Linked DNA regions of Homo sapiens: region 2 is linked to region 1. The links are contacts of gene promoters, found by promoter capture Hi-C in blood cells and fetal thymus (Javierre and others, 2016). All regions are on one chromosome and are shown on one strand. Each heading gives the region's core, a stretch centred on a gene start or on the middle of the fragment in contact. The rest is flanking DNA. Distances are from core to core; before and after follow the strand shown.

The links. Contacts are between HindIII fragments. The CHiCAGO score rates a contact against its expected background, and 5 or more counts as called.
Region 2: a contact is called between a fragment that was not itself captured here and the fragment with the promoter of POU4F1 in region 1, in 1 of 17 cell types (M2 macrophages). The highest score is 5.9, in M2 macrophages.

What each region holds. Positions count from the first base shown.
Region 1 is chr13:78,602,172-78,608,600 of GRCh38, forward strand. POU4F1 (POU class 4 homeobox 1) reads right to left here and starts at 1,381. Exons shown (of 2, transcript NM_006237.4): 1 at 1,033-1,381; 2 at 1-380. The coding sequence starts at 1,155. It overlaps OBI1-AS1 (OBI1 antisense RNA 1), which reads left to right. Exons shown (of 6, transcript NR_047001.1): 4 at 3,130-3,273; 5 at 4,801-5,039. RefSeq lists a silencer at 1,172-1,331 and enhancers at 4,449-5,310, 5,311-6,170. The HindIII fragment of the contact is 4,390 bases long and covers 1-2,580 here.
Region 2 is chr13:78,966,380-78,972,840 of GRCh38, forward strand. It overlaps LOC105370273 (a long non-coding RNA gene), which reads right to left. Exons shown (of 5, transcript XR_942108.4): 3 at 232-343. Among named protein-coding and RNA genes, the nearest start is that of LINC00331, 130 kb to the left of the region's middle. The HindIII fragment of the contact is 2,778 bases long and covers 1,739-4,516 here.

The DNA of each region.
Region 1 (6,429 bases), core at 131-2,630:
CCGCCGCCTCCCCCGGGGCCGCCGCCCGGGCCGCCGCCGCCGCCCGGGCCGCCACCGCCCCCCGGGCCGTCGTGGGCGCCGCCGCCGCCGGCCGCCGCGCCCGCGCCGCCCGCGCCGGCCATGAGCGCGAGCGACGGCGAGGAGATGTGGTCCAGCAGATCGCCGGGTTCGAGCGCCTGGTGGTGGTGGTGGTGGTGGTGGTGGTGCGCCAGAGGCACCGTGGAAGTGGACGTGCACGGCACGCTGTTCATCGTGTGGTACGTGGCGTCCGGCTTGAAAGGATGGCTCTTGCCCTGGGACACGGCGATGTCCACGGCCGCCAGCGCCTCGGCCCGCGCCAGCAGCGTCTCGTCCAGGCTGGCGAAGAGGTTGCTCTGCAGCTGCAGGCGACACAAACCAAACCAAAAAAACCACAAAACCAAAAGAGCAAAACAAAACAACAGAAGAAACACACACACAGGCCGGAAAGCACAGCATGCGAAGGGCAAACACAAAGCAACCAAAATAACAACGGGTTTGGGGGCAGTGGAGAGCGGGAAAGACGGAGAGGGGGCACATTGACGACCAGGGAGGGGGCAGACGAGAAGGGATGGGAGCGTGGAGAGGGGGACAGAAGTAGGGAGAAAGGGGGACACAAGAACACATTCCGGAAACGGGCGTGGGAGACGAAAAAGAGGGAAAAGAAGAAATGGAAATGTAACTCGCAGCTGGGGACCCGTGTCACACACCCGAGCACGCACAGAGACTGCCTTTCTGAGGCGTGAAATTAACAGAGAAAGTAGAGGGAAGTCGAGAGTCCTGGCCCCAGCGCTCCCTACTCCGATCGCAGGCGCCTGACGCGGAGGCAGAGGCAGACAGGAACACGACATTAAGGGCCGCCGGACAAAACGTGCCTCGCTGCGGGACTGCTCTACACCCCCTGCCCGCAGTTCCCCGCACCGGGACCTGCACACACCAGCCCCCGACATGCAGCGTTTCGGAGACGGGGAGGGGCGGGCGCGCGGGCCGGGGCCGCGGGCGTGGGGCGCTTACCGGCGGCGTGGGCAGGCAGGCCCGCCGGATGGCCTCGGAGCTGGAGTGCAGCGACGGGTACTTGTGCTCAGGGAGGGTGGGATGCATGGCAAAGTGAGGCTGCTTGCTGTTCATGGACATCATCGTGGCGGCTTGGCATGTATATCCACAAACACTCCGAAAGTCCGCGGGAAAGTGCGTACGCCGGCTCACCCGGCCTCCCTTCGGAGGCTGCAGCCGCGGCGGTCGCGGCGGCTGGCGGCGGCCCCGCCGCGGGCTGCTGCTGCTGCTCCTGCTGCTGCCAGGCGCTCCCTCTGACCGCGCAGAGCGCCGCGCGCCGGCCTCGCGGTCCCGCTTCTCCGACAGCTCTAGCCCCGCGCGCCGACGGGATGCACTCCTCTAACACCTGAGCCCCACTTCTCGCGGCCGTCCCGGGGAGCTCTCGCGAGAGCTCGCGGCCCCACCGCGCTGACAGGCATCAGCTGTCTCCGTCTGTCTGACGCGCGCTCTCCTTCTCGGCGGCCCCGTGCGTCTGCGCGCGCGCGCGCTCGTCCGGCCGCGACCAGCGCGTGGGAGCCGCTCTTATAGTGACCACCAGCAAGGACAGCGCAGGTGATGCACCTGTAGCTACCCGGGCATGCGCACTGCCCGCCTCACCTTTCCCACCGTGGTCTGGAAAGATCAGAAGGTCCAGCTATTGTCTAAGGGTGGGCACCTTTTAGAATAAAAAAGACGAGATGCGCGCACGCCCCTCTATGTGTGTGTGTGTGTGTGTGTGTGCGTGCGTGTGTGTGTATGTGTGTATGTTTCTTCTCCCTGATAGCAAGCCTTGAATATATGAGCATTACTTAGGCATTCCTCCTCTTCGGGATGCCTAACAAGCTGTTGTATAATGTATACAGCTGGACATTTCTACGTTAAATTATGCCCGCGCATTCCTCTGTATACAGTATAAATAACAACACAGAAATGCAGAAGGTGCTGTCTTTTGCTGCAAGAACCTGTTTCTTTAAAGGTTTATAAATAGGTTCCTGGAGAATAATCGCGGTGACAGACATTTGTTTGAAGCAGTCAGACGCTATTGATTTCCATATAATTTAATTTCCTCCGCATACTTTTTTGTTGTTGTTGTGAATATAACTGTGTCAGGCACCGCCAGTGACAGCCACTTAGGAGCCACAAGGAGCGTGTGCTTTCTACTCGGGAAAAGCTGTTGAAATGAAATTGTGCATTTCTCTTATTGTTTGTCTCCTTCAACCGTGTACAAACCCACGTTTCAAACGAGCTCCGGGTGATCTAAGGCTTCTAGTAATCAAAAGGAAAAAACAGTTAACAGGGTGTAGTTGGGATCCTTCCTCCCCTCAGCGTACACACACACACACACACACACACACACACACACACACTTTATGCTGGGAACTCCAGGAAAACTGCTTCAGAGAAAAGGGAATAAGATGTTGAAAAGAGAACTTTCTTTTCCCTTCCATCTTTTTGGCTTTTTGCCTCATATCTCTGCCTGCTTATATATATTTTTTTCAATAGGAGACAGATCAAACTAACTTACAGGAAAGCTTGATTCAAAAATATTAAATCAAGCCAATTTGAAAGAACGGGGACAAGCTCTGGTCCAGTTTTTAAATTTTTAAAAAATTATTGTGAAATTAAGACCTAAAAAGAATAAATCAATTAGCCAACCTGTTATATGGCCCTTATGTGGTAGCAGATCAAGAGCCTCCCAGGGGAGCCACAGTTCAGGTGCCAAAGTCCCCAGGGAAGGAGCACTTGCTCGCGGTGATAATAACCTAACAGCCCAGATGTTATCACATCTGCGGTAAGAGAGCTGGAGAGCAGCAAGGGGCTGCTTATGGAAAGCAGAAATCAGATAATCTTTCTGTTCTCTCCCACACCAAGGAAGTCTGTATTTCCACCAAAGAGCAGATCTCATTTCTATAAACCTAAATTTGCGTTCCCGTGGATTTTATCTTTCCTCTGCACAAATGCATGTGTGTTTAGCATACCCACTCACCTACTCAGATTCCAAGAAGAGCCCACAGGCGTCACCATGGCTTTTTCTTTCTTTCTTTTCATGTTCCCCCCCACCCCCTCCCTTCCTTCTAGCTCCAGAGGGAAGTGAGAAGGATGTTCACTTGCTGGTGAGAGAAGGAGCTGGTTCCATCCATTACGCAGTCCCCTGGGAGCGCTAAATGCAACTTTATCTCAACGGGGAGTGGACGATGAGCAGGACGTCGCTAGAGGGAAAGAGTGAGTCCTACGGTAGTCATCACACCGGGAGTCCGGGCTTAACCTAGTCCTTCCTGACACCCCTGGTGGCCGTTCCCTGCGCTCTCTCTTGACGGGAAAGAAAAGGCCCCCACAGAGGGTGAGGGCCTGGAACCTGCCCCTCCCCTCTCAAGGAAGCGCTGGTCTTTAGGGACCCTGAAGGGTACAGGAGCAACAGAAAGGTAAACAGTACAGGTTTGCGGCCGGGTGGGGCCTCTGAGAGCCAGGTGAGCTCCTGAGTACCCAAAAGGCACCTCGGTTCACCCTCCAACCCTGGGAGGCTTCCATTAAACCCAGCGGAGAGATGCCACCTTAGCCTGAAGTTAGGAGTTAGTCCCACCAAGATTTCCTTCCCTGTTCACCTCTCTTTCGACAACAGGAATACCCCACCTTGGGGTGAGGCCAGATCTTTGCTTGGGGTATTGGGTGTTTTGATGGGACCAGAAACATGAGGGCTATGGGTACAATCCTCCCTCCCCCTCCCACCATGGATAGGAAGCCCATCTAGGATACATCCATCTTCACTATAGCACTTAGTGCAGAGTTTGTCACAGGAAAAGTACCCCACCAAAAAACACGTGTGTAGGAAGGAAGAGAGGCCAGTTTCGGGTAGCCTGGGGGAGGGGTGGTGGCCTAGGGGCTGTTCAACAATCCAGGGCTGGTTGGAGATTGCAGGAAGATCCCTGGGTGGGGGGATGGGGGGGTCTACATTCTCCTTAAAAAGGAGGGGTGTGTTTTCCCCAGGCAGAGCTGTAAATTTTTATTCCAGCCTGTTCTTTTTCAGGAGCCAATTATTTCACTCCGCCCTCATTAACTTGCTACCTTATCTTCCTTCCTCAAATTCTTGCTGAGCGGTAGTCTGGCCCAGTACAAGACACTGGAGATAAAATGAGGTATACAATATGAGTACCTGCCCTGCAGGAGGTGACAGTGTATGTGCGTGGGGAAGCCACGGATAAAAGGCATCTATGACACAGGTATAACAGGTGTGATGAGAGGGATGTGTATAGAAATATGGAGCGGGTGATGCTTGGACAGTTATCATGCCTCATCCTCGTTGGTTCTCAGCCCAGGCTAAAGAATAGGGCATGCTGGCACATCTGCAGGCAGTTCCCTGGACCATATCAAGCCTCTCCCTACTTTCCTCCTGATGCGTAAAAGGAAAAGGTGGTGGGCTTGGGCTCAGCTCACCCATATGTCACTGTTTTGTTTTCCTGGTTTGGCAACTGCTGTAACTCGTTGGCCCCTGCCTGTGCTAATGATACCCACATGGGGTCTGAGCCTTGGCATAGATTCCTGGGCAATTTTTTTTCCTTCTTATTTAATGACCAACACAGATCTCCTCCTCCTCCTCATCTCATAGCTTTGCATTTTATCAAGAGAAGGATAATGAATGCACAACTATTGATTTCCAAGGAATTTCCGCCCCCAGGGACAGGGAGTCTATCATGTGGATCAGAGACACATTTCTTTCCCTCATTAATTAATTTTCTCCTCCTCCTTTGGCAGGCCTCACTTCCCGTTTCCTTTGGCAGCGCCCTTTTCCCGACCTAAGGGAGCAGACCTTCGTTGGTTGGCGTGAGGACTGGCGGGAGAGGTTTTGTGCCAGGATCCGCACTGTCTGGGGTGAACGCTCCTCACCTTTGACCTGAACCGCCAACTTCCCATCCTCCACTTTTGGAGAGCGCGCCTGATAGCTGCTGCCCACCTGGGCACTGACATCCTCCTTCCGACCGGGTGCGGAGAAAGTTAGTATTTGACTCCGCAGCCACTACTCGCCCCACCTTCTCACCTCCGAGGGGTTGAACCCGAGTTGTCTGTTGGGGTTTAGGGACTCAGGATCGGGTCTGAGGGACTTCGACATAAGTGCGTGGCGGTAGTGGGTATACAGGGGAGGGGGGCCGGGCCCCTCGCTCCTTCTGGAAACCGGGCCCCACTTGCAGGCCCGGCCACCTTGGGTTCTGGTGGCCGAAGCCGGAGCTGTGTTTCTCGCAGACTCGGGGAGCTACATTGTGCGTAGGCAATTGTTTAGTTTGAAAGGAGGCACATTTCACCACGCAGCCAGCGCCCTGCATGCAGGAGAAGCCCCCAGGGCCCAGGGTCGGCTGGCTTTAGAGGCCACTTAGGTTGTTTTAAGCACATGTGAAAGGGCAGACAGCAGGGGAGCAGGATATGGGTAAGATCTTCGGGTCTCAGAACAGGGGCTGCCCTTGGGCTGTCCCGGCGCCCTGGGCTCTGACACTGAAGGGTGGAATGGAGGAAGGAATGGAGAAAGGACGGTGGAACTTTCGCTTCCCCTCTGGGCCGCCTTCCCAGGGTCATGCCTGAGCTGCTTTGATCCCAGTGTCGCGCATCTTGGTCCGCTACCTCCCAGGCGATAGCTACTGGGCTCCTCGCTGGCCTCACTGGGGGCCATCCCGGGCAGTGGCCTGCCCTCCGAGGCCCGCGGGACCCAGCCCAGAGCTGAGGTTGGAGTTCTCCGGGCCACGTTCCGGGTCGCTTAGGCTCGGAGATTTCCCGGAGACCGTCGTCCTCCCTTTCTGCTTGGCACTGCGGAGCTCCCTCGGCCTCTCTCCTCCTCTGGTCCCTAAGGCCCGGAGTGGTTGGCGGTACTGGGGCCCGTCGTCATCTCTGCTTCTAAGGCATTCAGACTGGGCTCCAGCTGGGACCGGCAGAGGAGGTTCTCAAGGAAACTGGTGGGAAATATAGTTTTCTTTCGTCTGGTCGTTTAATTTAAATGCAACTTCCCTTGGGGACATTTTCCTGGACGTTAACCAGACCACCTTGAGATGTCGTTGATGACCTAGAGACCCAGATGATGCGTCCCAGGAAAGTTCACTGCTGACTATTGTCACTCTTGGCGTTATATCTATAGATATAGACCTATGTACATATCTCCACCCTGATCTCTCCGTGGACATGAAACCCACCTACCTTGTGAAAGCCCTACGGGTGACACATGACTACTACGTCTCTGTCCCAACAGGGGCTGGGCCTCCCCTGCCTAATAGTTGCCAGGAGTTTCGCAGCCCAAGTGAATAATGTCTTATGGCTGAACGTGGCCAAGGACTCCTGTGATTTAGGTCCCAGGAGGAGCAGAGACGTCCCCGCCCCGCCTGGGCCCTGCCGCATTCAAAG
Region 2 (6,461 bases), core at 1,878-4,377, 370 kb after region 1:
ATCCCCCCGATTATTGCCCTTTTTCTAACTTTCCTCCACAACCAAACTTAATAGTCCACACCCATCCCCACTTTTCCACTCCCTATTCACTCCTCACCCCACTGCAGTTTCTGGCCCTATGCCCCACTAAATATGTGTAAGTCTCAAATGGTTTCCTCACAGCCATGTCCAGTAAATAATTTTCAGGCTTTACATTTCACTTGGGGTTTCTCCTAGTACCCCAAAACTTACTCGTTCTTGGAACCTCTGGTGCAGCCATCGTGAAGTAAGTCCATTACAGTCTATCTCTCCTACTATGACTAAAGTCTTTATTCAAAGTACAAAAAGCAACTACTTGAGGACTCTGAAAAATAAACAAAAGCAGGTACATTGGGGAAGGATGTCAAGGCATTTAAAAATGATTTATATGTAAGTTAATTTCCCTTTTATTTTCTCTTTTTTCTATCATGGACTTGAGCCAAGACAGGCTTCCAGTGAACCTGACACAACATCACTATGGGCATCTAACATGTTGAGATAATTCTGTCTTTATCTCTAGAAGGCTAAGATATAGGCCTCTATGAGCAAGAGAACATGAGGGGAATCATCCTTTATTTTTTTCTCTCATGGCTTGATAAGAGTGGAAATGATACTTCCAGTGGTGTCCATATTGTGGGCAGTGCTATAAAGCTTACACTCCAATAGAAACCATATCCTTCTGGCTTGATGAATAGGTTATAGGGGACTCTTCAATCAGGAGAGTATTAGGATGAGTCCCATTTTCTGTCTTTGTTCTTGCCTGAGATGGCCACAATCATTGGAGTTATTCAGTATGCAAAGGCAGCAAGGAATTTAGCCCCAAGTTAAATTCCATATTTTTGGCCTGAAGATCAGGGAAAGAGGTCCCTTCCAACTGAAAAGTGTGGGGGAAATCCTGGAGATGAGAGATTTGGAGAAAGGAGTCCCCTAATTCTGCGAATAAACAAGTTTAGCTTCTGGGTTTACTCTCGAAGTGTACTTGTGCAGGATAGATCCAAAAGTGCACAGCAAAAGTTTTGATAGTGGAACCTCAATTTTAAAATATCACCTAGGTCTTACACTAACCTCTGAGTGGTACATGCTCACAGTGGACCCCAAATGGCATATCAAAGGCTTCGCTAATTGAACTGACATTGGAACAATCATTTCCATAAAGTGAGACAGAAATTGCAATCTGAACCTAACTTGGTGAATGCCAAGCAAACCACCACAACCACCAAAAAAAAAAAAAAAAAAGTATATTTTCCTGAGGATTTTAATAGAACCTAGAATGTAAACAACATATTTAAAATGTCTAGGTTGCAATACAAAAGTATTCAATTTACAAAGTACTCAAAAATTGTGACAAATTCCAAAGGGAAAGATTATCAATAAGTGCCAATCTTGAGATGATCCAGATGTTAGAATTATCAAAGACTTTAAAGCATCTATTATAAGTATGTTCCATCAGATAAAGGCAAACATTCTTGAGTAGAAATATGAAAGTTATCAATAGAGAAATAGAAATCATAAGTAAAAAATATTGCAACTATCTGAAATAAATCTTATAACTTATTTTTTTAAATTCTCACAATTTGCCTTCTACTGTGCAACTCCTCTCACATTTTCAATCTGAATCTGGTAGATCCTTCTCTGTCCTCCTCACTGTTTTTTCTTCTTCCACCAAGATCTCATTTTTGTCATTGATTTCTTCTCATTTTACTACATATTTTCATATGTAAGCTTATACACAACTTATCTACTCCTACTATCTTTTTCTCTATACCTACCATTCATTCTTTATACTATGGCTTTTATGCTTTTGCTTCCAACAATCCACAGAAGTTGCTCTAATTCAGTTGGTCAGTGAAACTCTTTATGGCTAAAGGCAATGGACAATTTTTAGTTCACATTATTAATATTCTTTTCTGAATATGTTTCTGGTGGCCACAGTACTGGGTAGAATTAGATGTTCAATACGTTTATTATTTAAATTAGTGAATGGCTACTCCCTTAGCTCCCATGTAAACAAAATTTTCTTTTTAAGAAATGAAAATCCTTTTGGCCATTTTTCTACATTTCCCATATGGGTTCCTCTTGCTTTCCCCACCCATTAATTGTTGGTGTTCACCAGAGTTTTATCATCAGCCTACTGGTCTTCCTTTTCAACACAATCTCCTGAATATTACTTACTCTCCTAATTTGGCTTAAAGGCTATATGCTATTGACATTTAAATTATTTATCTGTAGGTCTAAAAATTTTCAAATCCTCATTTGAGTATTTCCACTTAAAAGTCTTAAAAATACACCACTAACACCCCTAAACCTGATTCTCTTTTTGCATTATAAAATACACAGTTTGTGGTACTATCATGCTCCTGAGACCCTAGGAAAAAACTTGATAAAATCATCCCTCTTTCTTACCCTGGCCCTATCTTGTCACATAGATTTGCTGGTTTTACTTCCTAAGTATTTCTCAAGTCACTGTTTCTGTCTGTTGTACTCTTATTGTTTAATTCAATCTTAATCCATTTCTGACCTACAAAATTGCAATATACCCCTACTATGAGCTTCCTTTCTTTTTCCCCTACAATTCCAAACAGTTCCTATGTAGAGTTCTTAGCAATAGAAATATGATTATCTATTATTTTCTTCAAACTTATAATTAGCTGCTACTCTCTATGAAATAATTCCTAGCTCTGTGTTATTTCCTCTCTGGCAGTCCTTCCAGGCTCCTTTCTTGCCACTCCCTGCCTCACGTTTTAAACTCTAACAGTAGTAAACTACTTATAATTATCCAAAATAACCCTGTGGTTATGATTTCATAAACATTTGTTTTATATCTGTTGTCTGTAATAGTCTTCCCCCATCCTGCCTCTACAAATAATAATTATAATAGTTGATGTTTATTGAGCACTTACTATGTCTAGCAATAGCTTTGTCTTGATAGGGACCCTTGCATTTAATCCTCAGAACTACGTTGAGATAGGTATTGTAGAACTACTATAATCACCATTTTAGAGATGAGAAAACCAAGGAACAGAAAAGTTTAAGTGACTTACAAAAGAAAATAATAAGCCCAAAACCTAAACCAGACATTATAACTCCAGAAACTGCAAATTACCATACTTTATAGTATCCAAAGATCTTCTATCCAACTTTCCACACTCAGCTCAGAAATCACCTTTAAGAAAACATCTTTGAATAGACCGGGCATGGTGGCTCATGCCTGTAATCCCAGCTCTTTGGGAGACTGAGGCGGGCAGATCACGAGGTCAGGAGACTGAGCCCATCCTGGCTAACACAGTGAGACCCTGTCTCTACTAAAAATAAAAAAAAAAAAACTAGCCAGGCGTGGTGGTGGGCACCTGTAGTCCCAGCTACTCGGGAGGCTGAGGCAGGAGAATGGCTTGAACCCAGGAGGCAGAGCTTGCAGTGAGCCGAGATCGCGCCACTGCACTCCAGCCTGGGTGACAGAGCGAGACTCCATCTCAAAAAAAAAAAAAAAAAAAAAAAAAAAGGAAAAAAGAAAACATCCTTGAATAATAAAGACAATCACCCTTCTAAGCTCAGTTAGAGGCCTCTCTACTGGTCTCCCAGACTACCCTGCGCATCTTATAATAGAGGACACCTTGCAGGATCATTACCTGATTGATATCTGTTGTACTTCCACTAAACGTAATTCTTCAGTGGCATGGGTTATATTTTATCTAACTTTGTAGCCAAAGCACCTTGCAAAGTACTTCATACAGTGGTCACTCAATAAATAGTTGTTCAACTAAACATAAATAGCTGTTAGCCCAGACCTCTGTGCTTTTAGACATCTACTGGACGCCACTGTTTAAATCCGCCCATCAGTACTTAAGGACTTGGATAAAATTAAATTCCTATATTTTCCTTTCTATTGCTCAAGATTGTCCTTGACTCTGCCATTCCTTTCTTGAATAATATACTAATGTCTTTACAATTAACCAAATCAGAAGTCTAGGAAGCATCAAAGACTTTTGTATTGTGCCCAGTAACTAATTGGTCATCAAGTGCTTTAAGTTCTATCCTCTCTATATCTCTTAAGTCTTTCCTCTTTCCCATAATCCCATTGCTTCTGGTGCTTCCCTCCAACTCAGAAATTATTTTGAGACATTGCCTCTCCTCACATGCATATCATTACCTCTTTCCTCATCACTGGCCTGCAAGATTCTTGAGAAAAAGGATAATCTTTTCATCTTTGTACTTCTAAGTCATGCGTGTGTCCTCTTGAGTCATGAGTAAAGACGTGAGTCAAGCAGCTCATCTCATTGGCTGGTAGCTATTAACTTATACTCTGAAATAATCTAAAGAGAAAATTTCTCTCACAAAGGATTATACCTATAATAACCCCCAGAATTGTTCATAAATATTACAGTTCTTCTCTCTTTTCAGGTGTATTGTAGGATTACACTTCCTTACCCATTTCAAAGTTAGGTGGGCATGACTTGATTCAGTTAATGAAATAGAAAGGATTGGATGACCTCTGGACAGAAGCTTTAAAAAATAGTTCATAATTTGACCCATCCCCTTCCTCTTGCTGCAGTGATTAAGGAAGGATGTGTGAATGAAAAATTTGTCATATAAAATGTGAGAAATAAACTTTTGTTATATTAAGGCACTGATGTCTTAGGATTATTTGTTACTGCAACATAACTTAGCCTATCCTAACCAGTATAATGTCCTTGGGTACTGGTATTATTTCTTTTCTAGAAGAGTGATGTTCAGGGCAAATCATGCTGCATGTCCCTTTCTTGTCCCACGGACATTTTTATCTAAATGAATTCAGGTTAAAATTAGCATCAAGGGAAGCCTTGAAATGGAATTCAAAGTCCCAATTTGGCGATATTCAACATAAGAATTATGTGTGGAATGAAAAGGGTAATCATATTTGCTTTGAAGGATAATTATGAGCTAATTGTGTGCAAGAATAATGTAACCACTTTTATTCATAACTCTTCTTTTCTCTCTGCTGAGTGTGTAGCACACAGGCTGATCCAGTCAGGGATAATATACCTTCTGGAAGACTTGTAGAGTGATCAAAAGGATACATGCCACAGATATTTTATTGGGGTTTCATAAGTAAGACATTAAGTAAAAAGTTTATCCCCCAAATAACTCAATATGGGAAACATGATAGCATTATAATTATGCTTACTATGCATTTAGAGTTTGCAATGAACCACTAATTGTATACAGTCTATATCCTGCGAGAAAGCTATATAGGTATTTTACATGTATATGTGTGTGTGTGTGTATATGTGTGTGTGTGTATATATGTGTGTGTGTATATTTATACAGACATGTATTTTATATATAATTTATACATATATTTATACAGACATGTATTTTTGATCATCAGTTCCTCCTTGCTAGAAAAAGTAGGAAGTTGACTCTGAGTCACCCTTCATTAACCACAATGCTCACCTTTCCTCTGCAAGGAACCAAATGTCAAATAATCCCAGCGATTTAAGGCATTTCTAAAAGTCATTATAAGCTCACTTGTCATTTTCTAAATTTCTTCTGATGCACATGTTCAGCGTCCTGGAGCTTCTTTTTCTTTTATATTTTCTATTATTATTATTATCCGTCATATCAACACTGTCCATTTCTTTTTTCTTTTTTTTTTTTTTGGTCTATTATTCCTTAATTCCTGTTTTTACTTAGAGGATTGAACTATTTTTCTCCCCTAAGAAAACTGCCATTGATCAGAAAACAGTTGGCTTTTGGCTTCAGTTCAAATGACCTCTTTCCCTCAGGAAGCAAACCAAACTTTGTAGGGTCCTTTATGTTTGGGAATCACGGAACACACCAGCTCTAGTGACACCTCCCTCATTAAGCCTCTCTTTATTCCCTGGGACAAAACTACCTCCTTACATTAGACAGTACTTTGTTCTGTTTTCTATAATAATACCACACTGCTGTACTGTGACCTGCCCTCTTAAAGGTCTTTCTCCTACACAAGACATGAAACTCCCTAAGGGCAGAAAATGTGTTTTTTCCATCTTTCCACCTCTGGTTGTTCAGAGTCTCATGCATTATTTTTAGAATAGAGCCCGTTAAGTCACACTCAACATTATAGAACAGAAGTCTCAAATTGCAGTCTTTGGGACCAGCAGGCATATTCTGTTCAACCCACGAAAAATTGCCCAGCACAGGGCTTTAATATTTTCAAATAATTGCCAAATTTAAGAATTGACAGACTTATCATTTTTCGAAATCCAGAATCCTAGCTCAATATTTAACAAACAAACAGAACAGCAATTAGGAGATTAGGCAACGCTGAGTTCACCTTTCAACATGGAAGCAGCTGCTGGAGCTTAGTAATGGCCGCCATCTTTGAAATGGACACCATGGGTCCAGTTCTCATTAGTTTACCACAGTTTGCCACAAATGGCATGTACAGCTCATAAGCCATCAGAATAGCACCTAAACATGAT